Regions from separate parts of the Homo sapiens genome. Here regions 1, 2 and 4 are each linked to region 3. The links are contacts of gene promoters, found by promoter capture Hi-C in blood cells and fetal thymus (Javierre and others, 2016). All regions are on one chromosome and are shown on one strand. The core of a region is centred on a gene start or on the middle of the fragment in contact, and the rest is flanking DNA. Distances in the headings are between cores, read along the strand shown. Region 1 overlaps TMEM68 (transmembrane protein 68). Region 2 overlaps CHCHD7 (coiled-coil-helix-coiled-coil-helix domain containing 7). Region 3 holds the start of PRKDC (protein kinase, DNA-activated, catalytic subunit). Region 4 holds the start of ATP6V1H (ATPase H+ transporting V1 subunit H).

Region 1 (3,592 bases), core at 880-3,379, 7.8 Mb before region 3:
CTGTAGAAAATAACCTGGAATTTTGAGAACTAAAATATTGTATTTCCCCCAAAACATCTTCTAGTACATAGAGTTCCCCCCTGCCCCCGAGACAGGGTCTTGCTCAGTTGCCCAGGCTGGAGTATAGTGGTGTGATCATTATAGCTTACTGCAGTCTTCACTCCACGGGCTCAAGCAGTCCTCCTGCCTTGGCCTTCCAAGTAGCTGCAACTTACAGGAACGTGCCACCATGCCTGGCGAACCTTTTTTTGGTAGAGACAAGGTCTCAGTATGTTGCCCCCAGGCTGGTCTCAAACTCCTGAACTCAAGCAGTCCTTCCACCTTGGCCTCGAAAACTGTTGGAATCACAGGCGTGAGCCACCCTGGCCCATGTCATTTTTCTTGGATTAAAATAAAGTGATAAGAAGTCAGTTACACCCCCAGGTAAATTCAGGGGGAAGGGGAAGGGCCAGGCAGAAGTATAGGGAAGACAGAAATTGCAATCTTAATATTTTCTTTCTGTCAAGAGAGAAAAAGAGAGATATATCAAAGAAAGTGTGTTGGAAGCCAGACCAGGAGGTAAGATGACTAGATTTTAATTTTAGTTCTTGGCTTTTACTGAATTAATTTAGTAATTTTAAGCAAGCAAACTTGGCTTTCTGTGTTTACTTTTTTTGTTATCTGCACAATTAAGGGGTTGCATTGAGATTTAAAGACACTTTGTCATATTATCAAAAGTAAGTGCTACATTTTATCTACTGAAAGGCATTTTATTCAAATTCCTCTGATAGTTCTCTAGTAGCAGGTTTTAGGATACTGTTTTGATCCAGATTTCTGTTAAAGATTTAGATGAGGCCAAGCAGGGTGGCTCACGCCTGCAATCCGAGCACTTTGGAAGGTGGAGGCGGGCGGATCACTTGAGGCCAGGAGTTCCAGACAAGCCTGGCCAACATGGCAAAACCCCATCTCTACTAAAAATACAAAAATTAGCTGGGTGCAGTGGTGCTTGCCTGTAGTCCCAGCTACACGGGAGGCTGAGGTATGAGAACTGCTTGAGCCTGGGAGGTGGAGGTTGCAGTGAGCTGAAATCGAGCCACTGCAGTCCAGCCTGGGTGACAGAGTGAGACTCTGTCTCAAAAAAAAAAAGTTTTAGACGAACACAGTTCAGTTGTATATTTAGCCAGCATTTGTTAGGTGCCTACTATGTGCCAGAAAGTAAGTGTTTTTCGTATGTTTTCTTAGATAACTATTTTATTTACTGATATATTTAGAATAGTATCTGGCACAAACTTCTCAGGGCCATCCACTTGTACATTGTATCCTGTCCCCTTTGGCCTAGTCAAGGACAGAGCTCTAACAATTATCTCCTCTCCTACATCATCTGTTTCTCACTCCCATTGATGAATTATCGTTGACATTGAACATGGGTGTATTTTCTCCTATCTTTTTTTTTTTTTTTTTTTGAGATGGGATTCTCATTCTGTCCCTGAGGCTGGAGTGCACTGTCAGAATCTCGGCTTATATAACCTCTGCCTCCCGGGTTCAAGCAATTCTAGTGCCTCAGCCTCCCAAGTAGCTGAGACTACAGGTATGCACCATGATGCCTGGCTAATTTTTGTGTTTTTAGTAGAGACGGCATTACCATGTTGGCCAGGCTGGTCTCAAACTCCTGACCTGAAGTGATCCACCCGCCTTGGCCTCCCAAAGTGCTGGGATTACAGGCATGAACCACTGTGCCTGGCCCTTTTTTTTTTTTTTTTTTTTTTTAAAGACAGAGTCTCTTGCTCTTTCACTGAGGCTGGAGTGCAGTGGCTTGATCATTACTCACTGCAGCTTCTACCTCCCAGGCTCAAGTGATCCTCCCCCTTCAGCCTCCCAAGTGGCTGGGATCATTGGTACATGTCACCATGCCCGGCTAATTTTTAATTTTTTTTTCTTTTTGAGCAGAGTCTCACTCTGTTGTCCAGGCTGGAGTGCAGTGGCATGATCTCGGCTCACTGCACTCTCCACCTCCTGGGTTCAAGCCATTCTTGTGCATCAGCCTCCCGAGTAGCTGAGATTACAGGAATGCATCACCACACCTGGCTAATTTTTGCATTTTTAGTAGAGATGGGGTTTCACTGTGTTGCCCAGGCTGGTCTTGAACTCCTGGCCTCAAGTGATCTGCCCCTACTTGGCCTCCCAAAGTGTTGGGATTACAGGTGTGAGCCACCGCACCTGGCCTAAATTTTTTTTTTAGAGATGAGTTTTTACTATATTGCCTGGCTGGTCTTGAACTTCTGGTTTCAAGCGATCCTCTTGCCTCAGTCTCCCAAAGTGCTGAGATTACAGGTGTGAGTTACCATGCCTGGCCTCTGTCTTAAAGCAACAGCTGCAGCAGCAGCAGCAAGGAACAACTCACCTGTGTTCCCTTCTAGATACCCACCTGTTTCTTTCCTCCTTTGTGAGTTTTTATATTTGCTGTTTCCAATTCATTTTCTCCCATTCATTCTTGAACTTCAAGGGTAAAGGGGAGCTGCTTCTGTCCTCTCCTGTCCAAAGTGTTTTGTTTCCTACTATACAAAAACAGCTCTTACCAGGGTTTGCCAGTTTCCTTTGTGTTGTAAAATCCAGTGATCAATTATCATTTTTTTTTTTTTTTTAAAGCTGTCTCCTACAGGAAGGAAGTGATCTCTTACCTTACTAGGCCTGTCAACAGCATTTAAAACAGCAGAATATGCCTTCCTTCTTGAAGCTCTTACTTCCAGGATACTGCTTCTGCAAGGAGGAGGCTGGCTTGCCATTGTCTTCCCAACTTCTAAAATGTTGGGTGCCTCAAGACTCAGTCCTGGAAATTCTTTTTTTTTTTTGAGACTGAGTTTCGCTGTTGTTGCCCAGGCTGGAGTGCAGTGGCATGATCTCGGCTCACTGCACCTCCGCCTCCCAGGTCCAAGCGATTCTCCTGCCTCAGCCTCCCAAGTAGTTGGGACTATAGGCGTGCGACACCACGCCCGGCTAATTTTGTATTTTTGGTAGAGACGGGGTTTCTCCATGTTGGTCAGGCTGGTCTCGAACTCCTAACCTCAGGTGATCCTCCCGCCTCGGCCTCCCAAAGTGCTGGGTTTACAGGTGTGAGCCACTGTGCCTGGCCAGAAATTCTTTTTTACTCTATATTCGTTCCCTGGAGGGATCTTCTCTAGTTCCATGGTTTTAAATATTGTCTATATGCTACCAATTCCTAGATTTATATCAGGGCCATCCACTTATACCCTGTATCCTCCTCCTGATCTTCCTGCTAAACTGCTGATGTCCGGCTGCCTACTTAATGTCTTCACTTGGATGTCCAATAGACATCTTAAACTTAACATGTTTAAAATGGAATTCCTGATCTCCATCCCACCCTCAAACCTGTTCTTCCTGCAACTCTTATTTTTTCACAAGCAAGCGAATAATAATGATGATAGCAATAGTTAATGCTTATATGTGATAAGCATTAACTATGCTTAGATGCTTATAAGCAATAGTTAATGCTTATAAGTGAATAATAATGATGATAGCAATAGTTAATGCTTATATGGTAGAAAGCACTCTTCTAAGAGTTTTTTTACACGTAATCTTCACGATAGTCTTATTA
Region 2 (3,378 bases), core at 666-3,165, 8.3 Mb before region 3:
TATTTAAATTAGTAACAATTAAATAGAAGTACTCATTCCCACAGGAATACATTAACAGCAATTGGGATGAGAATATACAAAGTACAAAGTACAAAAGTATATACAGTCTGTCAAGAAGAGCTACTGAATAATCGTGAAATAAAACCAACAGTGCATTTAGCAAAGCGAAAGGAAATAGCTGGATCCCGTGGTTCAAGGAAACAGAAATTATATACCAATGTTTTCAGAAAAATGGACCATTTTAACTTCCACGGATGGCAGTGAGAGAGAAAAAGGCAGAAATTGAAGCCTAACATGATGTGTTATGACAAGGGAAGTTAAACATTCTGTTCATCTCCAGGAAAACTAAATTTATAACAAAGACATTGTTTTAGGGCTGCAGATACTTAAATGTCTAAGAAGACCCACCTATATTAAAACTGCATTCTTATAGCTTAGAGGACGACGAGGCAGCTAACAAGAGCTCTCAAGGATCTTTCACGGCTAAAGTAGCACACAGAGGATAAAGTTGAAAAGTTAAGTTTCCCTACAGCCATCAGTGGGAAAGGATTGTGGGTACTGACTAATTTTAGGCTTCAGTTTCAACCCTAGGAGATGGGTTTTAACACAAAGCTAACCAATCTAGGCTTACCCAGAATCTCCGGCAGTTTTTGTACCTCAAGAAGTAAGTGGAACACCTTTCCCTGTCATAGTTATTTTCATCCAGACATCTGGTGGAAGCATCAGATTCCTTACAGATATAAGAGAGGCATCATTTAAAAGGTAGAACAGGATCTAAAAGCAAACAAACAAACAAACAAAAGCTGCTTCCCCAGAAGCAAATAATGTGAAATAGTTCATTTGTGTTCATTTTGATGGGTAGACTAATAAAAACTGGACAATCTCGCCAGCTATCCCAGTATGCACTCTGCTCAGGCTAACATCTTCCTTTTTATAATGTGGGCCAGTTTTCTGAATATGTGATCACAGGAATTTGAGCCAAATAACTGTGATCAATTAATCCAGTAACCATTTTAGTAAGAAACTGAGGCAAGGTGCAATGTGTTAAATGACTACTGCACAACTAGAATCAGAATCCATCTCCTGACTCACAGTACATCTCTCCTGTTTTTCCAGATTTTCACTTTGGCTTCAATGTTTGATCATAATATTGGTTTCAAGATTCCAAGTAAATCACTAATAACTGGTCTACAACAAGACAACCTAAATTAACACCATTCATCTCAATGCATTTTTGGCTACCATTTACTCCATTATACAAATACACTATTATATAAGCAATTTTAATAGATATTACTTCAAAACCGAAGTCAACAACACAAGCTATAAATTCAAAGGAAAGTAGGTGCCACATGGGGATTAAATTTAAGCTGTGTGAACTGGAAGTAGATTGAATAACAAACTTAAAAGTGAAAGGTATGATTCTGTGAGGTCACCTAAAGCAGGGGTCCCCAACCCCCAGGCCACAAAGTGGTACTGGTCTTCGGTCTGTTAGGAACCCGGCCAGATAGCAGGAGATGAGCAATGGGCAAGTGAGCCTTACCGCCTGAGCTCCCCTTCCTGTCACATCAGTGGCAGCATTAGATTCTCATCTAATGCTATTAGATCCCTATTGTGGGATCTAATATCACGAACCCTATTGTGAACTGCGTGCATGTGAGGGATCTAGGCTGCAAGCTCCTTAGGAGAATCTAATGCCTTTTGACGCCCGCCCCCTTCCCCATCCGTGGAAAAATTGTCTTCCACAAAACCGGTCCTTGGTGCCCAAAAGGTTGGGGAACACAGATCTAAAGGAAAGCTTTAGCTATATGGGTAGACAGTTTGCAACACATATCTAAGAAACATGTTCTACGTAAACAGAACAAAGCTGAATTTCTGTGCCAAATATTTAATGAATGTATATATTTGGAAAATGCATATAACTAAAGAGTATAATTTTCATGGGACCAGTATGATAACTACATTATTCAAACGTAGCAAAGCCACAAGTAAGTATCGCAAATCATACCAAATAAATGCCAATAAAAGCTTACTCTTAAAACATTTTGTTTATCAGATACCTTTGTGAAAACCTTTAAGCTTTAAATAGGCTAATTATATTATCAGCCCATTACTCTCAGCCAGGTTGTCAAGGACATGGTGATATTATTGCTAGTGAAACAATAAATGTCAGTGACAGTTTAAAAATATCATACCTTCCAGTTTTCCATGTTTGGACTAAATATTCTCAGTGTTACATTTTCCTGTCTAGTTTTACAGTGACAACCAAATGCTTGCATATTATACAAATAAGGAAAACTAAAGAAAAGATGAATGTTTGTTAGAGAAATTATAAACATCTAAAAATGCTCTAGTTAAATAGGATATGCTGGCCAACAATATTTTTTCTAGAGAAATAACTTTATTCAACAACTGCAGAAAACAAAGGCCCACAAAACTAGAGCAGCCTGTTTTTCCAACTTAACACTCATGAAAATTAAAGCAAACCATCCTACCGACAAACAAGGATTTATGTCAGGATCTCTCAGCCTCTGTGTTACCGAGGGCATTCTAACAGTCTTCTTACTGAGGGTAGACAGAAAAAAAATAATTATACAGTAGTTGACAGAAAATAAATCAATACATCTCAATAGCACTAAAAGTACCTGAAATTTTGATTTTGGCATAATGATCACTTAGTGAGGAACTTCATGTATTCTCTGTACTTTGTGAATAAAAACTTGAACGTGTTTTTCCTTTGTATTGCCATGCCTCAACACAAAGGCCATATATTGGATTGAAATGCATCTACTGGCTGGGTGCGGTGTCTCACGCCTGTAATCCCAGCACTTTGGGAGGCTGGAGCGAGAGGGCTGCTTAAGCTCAGCAGTTCGAGATCAACCTAGGCGACACAGAGAAACCCCATTTCTACCAAAAATACAAAAATTAGCCTGGTGTCGTGCCGTGTGCCTGTGGTCCCAGCTACTTGGAAGGCTAAGTAAGGTGGGATAGCCCAGGAAGTCAAGGCTGCAGAGAGCTGTGATTGCACCAGTGCACTCCAGCCTGGGTGACAGAGAGAGACCCTGTCTCAAAAAAACGAAAAAGAAAGATAGTTCAATTATAATTCAGTTGTTGTTTACTCTTATTCTTAAGTTTAAGCAACCAAATGTACTAATAAAACCTAAGAATACAGTATGCATTCCAACAATTACTTCCTTATTTTACACCAATTAGCGTACAAAATAAGAATGAAATTCGGTACAGTCCAACTTTAGCAAAAACATTCATCAACTGAAGTACCAGAGTGCCTATTTTATGGCCAATAGTAGGGTAGCCAACACACCAAAAAGCCAAGTTATTGCTTAGTTGACATTATGAAAAGCTATACTGTTTCAAAAA
Region 3 (3,379 bases), core at 698-3,197:
GTGAACTAACATCAAAGTCAAGAGGGATAGCTATAAAAACAAAATTAGGAAATTCTGGTGGCATATCAAACCTGAAATTACAGCATGTTGTCTGTTGATCTATACCATCTAATCGCAACAGCAAACTGAATATTTATTGCAACCTGCGGTGGCTGAGATTCTGAGCACTCTTAAATGTTCTATTAAAAAAAAGCACCAGAGAAGCTGCTTCCTCTGCTCACTAAGCCCTAAAACTACTATTTTCTGCACTCCGTTCAGCTCCTCTGGTTAAGAACATGCTCAGTCACGTGCAGAGGGGATGCTTTAGGCGTTATGCCAACTGTTATAAAGCCAGTAAACCTGAGCAGATAAAGCATCAGCTGTGTATCAAGCACAGCAAAACCAAGATCTTCAGACACGCACCTGAAGAATGCATTTGGGGAGGGCTGGAAAACAGCACGTCCTGCGCAGCAGGGCTCTGCAGGTCCACTCCAGGCGAGGTTGGCATCGGCTGCAACTCCCCCGTGGAGGTGGAATCCTCGCCTCTACGTCTCTGAGAGGGAGATGACCTGGCATCCTCACTCCGAGCTTGTGTCACACAAAACAGAAAAGACAGCCATTAACTTTCAGGGCCGGCCTTCCTGGATTTGTCTTTTCCTTGGGGCATTATGACTCACCACTGAACCAAACCAAACAGAGGCAAATGGCAATCGAATTAAGCAGCACCCAGGCCACAGCCTGCTGTGGGTGTCTGTGCGCACCAAGCGGCAGCGCCCAGCCCGAGGCTGAGCGCCCGGGTCCCGCGCACCCACCCAGCGCTGCCAGCTGCGGCGAGAGGGCAGACGGGGCGGCGCCGGGGGCTGTAGTGGGCCCGGCTCGGGGGACTCACGCGTCTGGGCGGGGGTGGCCCTTCCACGCCGGCTGCCGCGGCGGCTCGGGGTCGACGCCGGGGACGACATAGTGCTCGGAGTACCTGCGCGACAAGGACAAGCTCGGGCCGGGCCCGCCTCCCGGCTTCCCTGCCCTGCTCCGCAGCGCGGACGTTCCCGTCGGCTCCGCGCCACGCCCTCCCCGCCGGCGCGCGGTTACCGTGGAAAGGCGGCCGCTTGCCGACGACGCTCGCGGACTCCGAGTCCACCTGGCGAGTAGCGCTCCCAAACCGCGAGACCCAGAGTTCCCGCCGGCGGCAAGGTCGTCTCCGCCCCTGGCGGGGCCTCACCAATCACAGCGGCGCTCGTACGTGGCTCCGCCTCCGGGAGGCGCCACTGCGCATCGGCAGGGGGGGACAGTGCCGCTTCTTTCAGCGCCCGTGCGTAAACCAGAAGTAGGCCTCGCTCGGCCCCCCTTGGTCCAGATGGTCTGACCCCCTGCGCGGCAGCGTTTTCGCGGGAAAACTGGGTCCTACAGCACCAGCTCTCGGGGTGTGTTCCTCTAGCGTTGGCTAGGGAGCGTGTGCTTCTTTATCCCTTAGGCGTTTTTGGTTAATAAGGACATTACAGATGCATTTCTCACTTAAAGATTTTTTTTATTAAAAAAAATTAAGGACGGGAGGTGGTGGGGATGGTCTCATTATGTTGCCCAGACTGGTCTCGAACTCCTGCGATCCCCCCGCCTCAGCTTCCTAAAGTGTTGGGACTGCAGGCGGGCATCACCGCCCCCGACCGCGTTTGTCGTTTTTTATCGAGGAACAAACTTGGAACTCTTGACCTAGGCCCCTCGCTTGTTTTATCTGCCTCTGGTATTTATTTAGCCAAGTCCAACACCAAGTAGCCACCCAAACTACCTCCGCAGGTCAGACGTTTTTCCTTAGGTTTCCATGTTGATTCGGGCCAAAGAGGCGCGCTTACTGGCCAGGCCTTCCCGCAGGGGTCCCCGGGAAAGTTCCTGCCGCCGCGCCCCGCAGCCCCGCCTCCGCGCGTAGGGGCATTTCCGGGTCCGGGCCGAGCGGGCGCACGCGCGGGAGCGGGACTCGGCGGCATGGCGGGCTCCGGAGCCGGTGTGCGTTGCTCCCTGCTGCGGCTGCAGGAGACCTTGTCCGCTGCGGACCGCTGCGGTGCTGCCCTGGCCGGTCATCAACTGATCCGCGGCCTGGGGCAGGAATGCGTCCTGAGCAGCAGCCCCGCGGTGCTGGGTGGGTACCGGCCCGAGCTGGGCCGCGGGTGGGTCCTGGCTTCCCGAGTCGTTCTGGAGCCGGGCAGCCCGGCGCTTCTCTGTGTTTAGATGACGGTATTTTGAAGTACAGCAATTAGATTCTTGGGGGAATTTCTGTGTATGTGTATAAAGGGATTTGTCATACTGCTTTTTACCCCCTAGTATTAGAGGAAAGATATTTTAAAGCCAAAGTTGGTGAAAACGACCCCTAATATGGCAATCATTGCTATGCAGAGTGGGGGGCAGGGCAAGAGAAATAATTTTTTTTTTTTTTGAGACGGAGTCTCGCTCTGTCGCCCAGGCTGGAGTGAAGTGGCGCGATCTCGGCTCACTGCAACCTCCGCCTCCCGGGTTCAAGCTATTCTCCTGCCTCAGCCCCCCGAGTAGCTGGGATTACAGGCGCGCGCCACCACGCCCGGCTAATTTTTTTGTATTTTTAGTAGAGATGGGGTTTCACCATGTTGGTCAGGCTGGTCTCGAACTCCTGACCTCGTGATCCCCCCGCCTCGGCCTCCCAAAGTGCTGGGATTACAGACGTGAGCCACCGGGCCCGGCCAAGAGAAAGTATTTTCTTTCACCTGAATCTCGCCTAATCCCACCAGTACCTTTTCCAAACCCCTCTATTTGCCGTTCCTACTTTGAGAAAAATTGAAGAAATGTAATTGAAGTCATGTTCTTTTAACTCTTTAGCAATGCCTGGGTGGGAACTTTTTCCCCTTTGTAGTAAAAGTGCCTCTTTTTAGCATTTTAAATATTCAAATACTTAATTATGTGGATCTCCTGTATTCCTTCTTTAAAACACGAGTATGCAGACCTTGATGTTGTGCCCTATTAAAAGGTGAGATTTTCTTCCGGAGGGTCTAGTAGTGAATATGGTGTAGGAATAACTTAAACAGTTTAAACTAGATGCTATATGTGGCACGGTGCGGTGGCTCATGCCTGTAATCCCAGCACTTTGGGAGGCTGTGGCAGCTGGATCACCTGAGGTCAGGAGATGGAGACCAACCTGACCAGTATGGTGAAACCTTGTCTCTACTAAAAATACAAAAATTAACTGGGCATGGTGGCGAGCGCCTGTAGTCCCAGCTATTCGGGAGGCTGAGACAGGAGAATGTCTTGAACCCAGGAGAAGGAGATTGCAGTGAGCCGAGATTGTGCCACTGCACTCCAGCCTGGGCAACAGAGCACGACTCCGTCCCAAAAAAAAAAAAAAAAAGATGCTATATACATGTATCCTATATGTACTCTA
Region 4 (3,332 bases), core at 217-2,716, 5.9 Mb before region 3:
TCCCCTCTGCTCACTGCACTGTTCCTGATTTTGTTCCATAACTTTGTGCCTCTAGGAAAAGAGGAGAGCCTCCCGAAATCTGATGAGACTCGCTGTATCACGCCAGTCTGTGGCTTAGGTGATACAGAAAGGAAATGCGAAGATCAGGCCTCACTGCCAGCTTTGCTCAGTTACACAGAAAACATGCTGTTTCAGCTTTTGGGAGTTTCTTAGTACACGATCGGTTTCTTTTTCTCTTTTATGAAAGTTTTTCCCCTTAGATTTGCTTTCAAAACAACAGACTTTCACTTCTGGCTAAGACAGAATGAGTGACCTAGTACAATCTTTGACACTGTTATTATATATCTTTATTCATAATCAATGCATGATTTTGATTATTCTGACTTTAATTTTACGAGTAAAAATGGGTTGGTTATAAATCCCTTTCAAAGAATTTTTTTTTTTTCTTTTTGAGACGGAGTTTTGCTTTTTCTGCCCAGGCTGGAGTACAATGGTGCGGTCTTGGCTCACTGCAACCTCTGCCTCCTGGGTTCAAGTGATTTTCCTACCTCAGCCTCCCAAGCAGCTGGGATTACAGGCATGCGCCACCACACCCAGCTAATTTTTTGTATTTTTAGTAGAGATGGGGTTTCACCATGTTGGTCAGCTGGTCTCGAACTCCAGACCTCAGGTGATCCACTGGCCTCGGCCTCCCAAAGTGCTGGGATTACAGGAGTGAGCCACCGCGCCCGGCCCCTTTCATTGCTTTTTAAGGAAAACATGCTATCATATATACTTCACCTCCAGGGCAGTACATTCTTACTTTAAGGCAAAGACAGTTGCTGAGGCCTGGACTAGGGGAAAATTTGGGCTCCAGATGGGACTGTTGGATAAAATACCAGACGTCCTGTAAATGTGAATTTTAGATAAACAACGAATAACTTTTTAGTATAAAAGTAAATACTGCAATGGAATTTATTATTTGCTAAATGTGCAACCCTAGGTTAAGAGAGCTTTTCAGACCCACTTCTCAGCCCGAGTTTTCTATTTAAAATCAGAATAAGAACGCCTGCTTCATGGAGCTGTTAAATCCAAATGGAAATTAATTTGAAAGCGCGAAATCAAACTTTTCAAAAGAATGACGGTTACAATAAGAGCGTTTTGGCCTCTGCTAGCTGCTTCCGGGCGGAGGTCCTCGGCCTCCCCTAGGCGAGGCACTAGGTCTGGGGGCGGCGGGTCTTAGCGTGCCCGCCACGCTCGCCGCCTCCCACCTGCCCTGGCTGGCTGGGGCCCGACCCTTGCGTCGCTCCGGGGCCCAAGTTACGGACTCGGGAATCCAGTTGTCCGCACCGAACAAGCCCCGCCGCAGCGCCCGCCCCTCCTCTTGCTGCTTTGGAGTCTCCCGGCTTCCGCCTTCCGCAGCAGTCACGTGCCTCCGATCACGTGACCGGCGCCTCTGTCATTCTACTGCGGCCGCCCTGGCTTCCTTCTACCTGTGCGGCCCTCAACGTCTCCTTGGTGCGGGACCCGCTTCACTTTCGGCTCCCGGAGTCTCCCTCCACTGCTCAGACCTCTGGACCTGACAGGAGACGCCTACTTGGCTCTGACGCGGCGCCCCAGCCCGGCTGTGTCCCCGGCGCCCCGGACCACCCTCCCTGCCGGCTTTGGGTGCGTTGTGGGGTCCCGAGGATTCGCGAGGTAAGGCCGCCCTCGCGTTGTTTGGTCTCAGGCTGCAGACCAGGTCAGGCGACTCTTGCAGTTTCTCCAGCTTGCCTGGTGCGTGCTGGTGTCTCGCCGCTTGGTCCTCTCCTGTTCTTCGGCCCCCGGTTGCCAGATTGCTTTTCTTCCAGGCCTCAACCAGGTTTATTAAGCGAAATTCTGGAGCCTTTCTCGCAGGGGGAAGAAACGTCAGGGGCGGGCAGGAGAGTGGAGGGGGAGGGGTAAAAAGTATACCTTCTCCAGGACTGGGCCACGGCCCTGGATCGCTGGGGGTGCGAGTAGTTCAGGGACTTAGGTAATTGTCTAGAGACACCTTGAGCTACGCCAGGACGGGCCGCTGAGGCTGAGCCTCCTTGGCTGCAGAGTTCCAGCCTGGCCCAGTTGAAGCCTGTTTTTTCCTGGGCCCTGTCGTTCGCGCTGCCCAGGGTTGTTTATACAGCAAATCTTCAGATACAGAGATTAAGTTCCAAATTGATTAAGATCGTTGGAAACCCGGAATATAATTTTGGGTAGGATTTTAACTTCTTTGTGGCCATGGCCGTGAATTTATGTTTTGCAAGTGGCAACCTGTATTTTGCTTTGTGTTAAAATCAGTCGTTTGTATCTGGAAGTTTAGGAGTGAGAATTACATAGAATTTCATTATTGTAGGTTCTTGTCGTCCAGCCAGACCGCCATTGTTGGCTTACCTAAATTGTAATATGTATTTGTTCTAAAACTTTCTCTCCGAATTTTGATTTTGCAAATACTATGAATTTTGTTTGAAAAGGAAAGCACTGTCTTCTAAGAAATTATGTTCCCACTTTGTGTATTTTAATTTGAGTAATTTTCGAAAGGACTTAGAATTTTTAATGTGCCACTTCAAAATGATGCTTAGTAAATGTTTATAAAACTAGCCTTATCCGTACTATTCATATTCTTATTGTTTCTCTATGAGAAAAGTTAACCACAATTGTATAAATTTACAATTTTTCCCATATTTATACCTATTCTATTTAATCATGATTTCTGATTTCAGTATATTAGGTGATTGCTTTAAAAATCTTACTGCAGTGTTAGTGCCAATAATGAAAAAAATTTTTCTAGAAAAGCAAAAGCCTAAAGAACTCTTTTATGGAGCAGTGGACAATATTTGAAATATAATGATACTTTCAGACTTAGGACATTTAATATTTGAGTTGAATGCCTGGGGAGATTAAAGTGATCACGATATTCATAATCATAATATTAATAGTTGTAAAAAAAAGAAACACCTCGTATTCTGTTTTTACCTTGCATCAAAATTGAAGATTTGTTGAAAGACATTCAAGATTACGAAGTTTAGATGACCAAAATGGATATCCGAGGTGCTGTGGATGCTGCTGTCCCCACCAATATTATTGCTGCCAAGGCTGCAGAAGTTCGTGCAAACAAAGTCAACTGGCAATCCTATCTTCAGTAAGTACCAATTTGCTGTGAATCATGGACAGTCATATGCTTTTGCATCAGACTTTTTCATGGTCATGCTTCTATGAGAGAAATACAGGGAAAATACTGAAAAATGTGGAAGAAACACTTCCTCTTCAGAATAATTAGCTGTCTTAGGGAGTTAAGTGTAGTGGGGTGGAAACAGCTTGGCGCCCTAGTGGGGAAGCAG

What was found. The method cuts DNA at HindIII sites, captures the fragments that hold promoters and counts their contacts. A CHiCAGO score of 5 or more calls a contact.
Region 1: a fragment that was not itself captured here is called in contact with the fragment with the promoter of PRKDC in region 3 in 1 of 17 cell types (non-activated CD4 T cells); the score reaches 6.0 in non-activated CD4 T cells.
Region 2: a contact is called between a fragment that was not itself captured here and the fragment with the promoter of PRKDC in region 3, in 1 of 17 cell types (naive CD8 T cells). The highest score is 5.3, in naive CD8 T cells.
Region 4: the fragment with the promoter of ATP6V1H here is called in contact with the fragment with the promoter of PRKDC in region 3 in 4 of 17 cell types (naive CD8 T cells, total CD8 T cells, activated CD4 T cells and 1 more); the score reaches 6.0 in naive CD8 T cells.

Annotation. Positions count from the first base shown.
Region 1 is chr8:55,767,173-55,770,764 of GRCh38, reverse strand. All of the region lies in intron 1 of TMEM68 (transmembrane protein 68), which reads left to right. Among named protein-coding and RNA genes, the nearest start is that of TMEM68, 4.4 kb to the left of the region's middle. The HindIII fragment of the contact is 6,579 bases long and covers 1-3,592 here.
Region 2 is chr8:56,213,785-56,217,162 of GRCh38, reverse strand. CHCHD7 (coiled-coil-helix-coiled-coil-helix domain containing 7) reads right to left here. Exons shown (of 4, transcript NM_001011671.3): 2 at 2,496-2,565; 3 at 632-730. The coding sequence starts at 2,549. Among named protein-coding and RNA genes, the nearest start is that of CHCHD7, 3.7 kb to the right of the region's middle. RefSeq lists an enhancer at 3,126-3,378. The HindIII fragment of the contact is 230 bases long and covers 1,801-2,030 here.
Region 3 is chr8:47,958,704-47,962,082 of GRCh38, reverse strand. It overlaps PRKDC (protein kinase, DNA-activated, catalytic subunit), which reads left to right and starts at 1,947. Exons shown (of 86, transcript NM_006904.7): 1 at 1,947-2,110. The coding sequence starts at 1,957. It overlaps MCM4 (minichromosome maintenance complex component 4), which reads right to left and starts at 1,142. Exons shown (of 17, transcript NM_182746.3): 1 at 1,069-1,142; 2 at 869-952; 3 at 403-567; 4 at 1-30. The coding sequence starts at 938. RefSeq lists silencers at 709-1,108, 1,779-2,078, 2,089-2,138 and an enhancer at 2,319-2,478. The HindIII fragment of the contact is 8,899 bases long and covers 1-3,379 here.
Region 4 is chr8:53,841,379-53,844,710 of GRCh38, reverse strand. It overlaps ATP6V1H (ATPase H+ transporting V1 subunit H), which reads left to right and starts at 1,466. Exons shown (of 14, transcript NM_015941.4): 1 at 1,466-1,677; 2 at 2,986-3,133. The coding sequence starts at 3,021. RefSeq lists enhancers at 31-80, 1,378-1,517 and a silencer at 1,158-1,307. The HindIII fragment of the contact is 7,596 bases long and covers 1-3,332 here.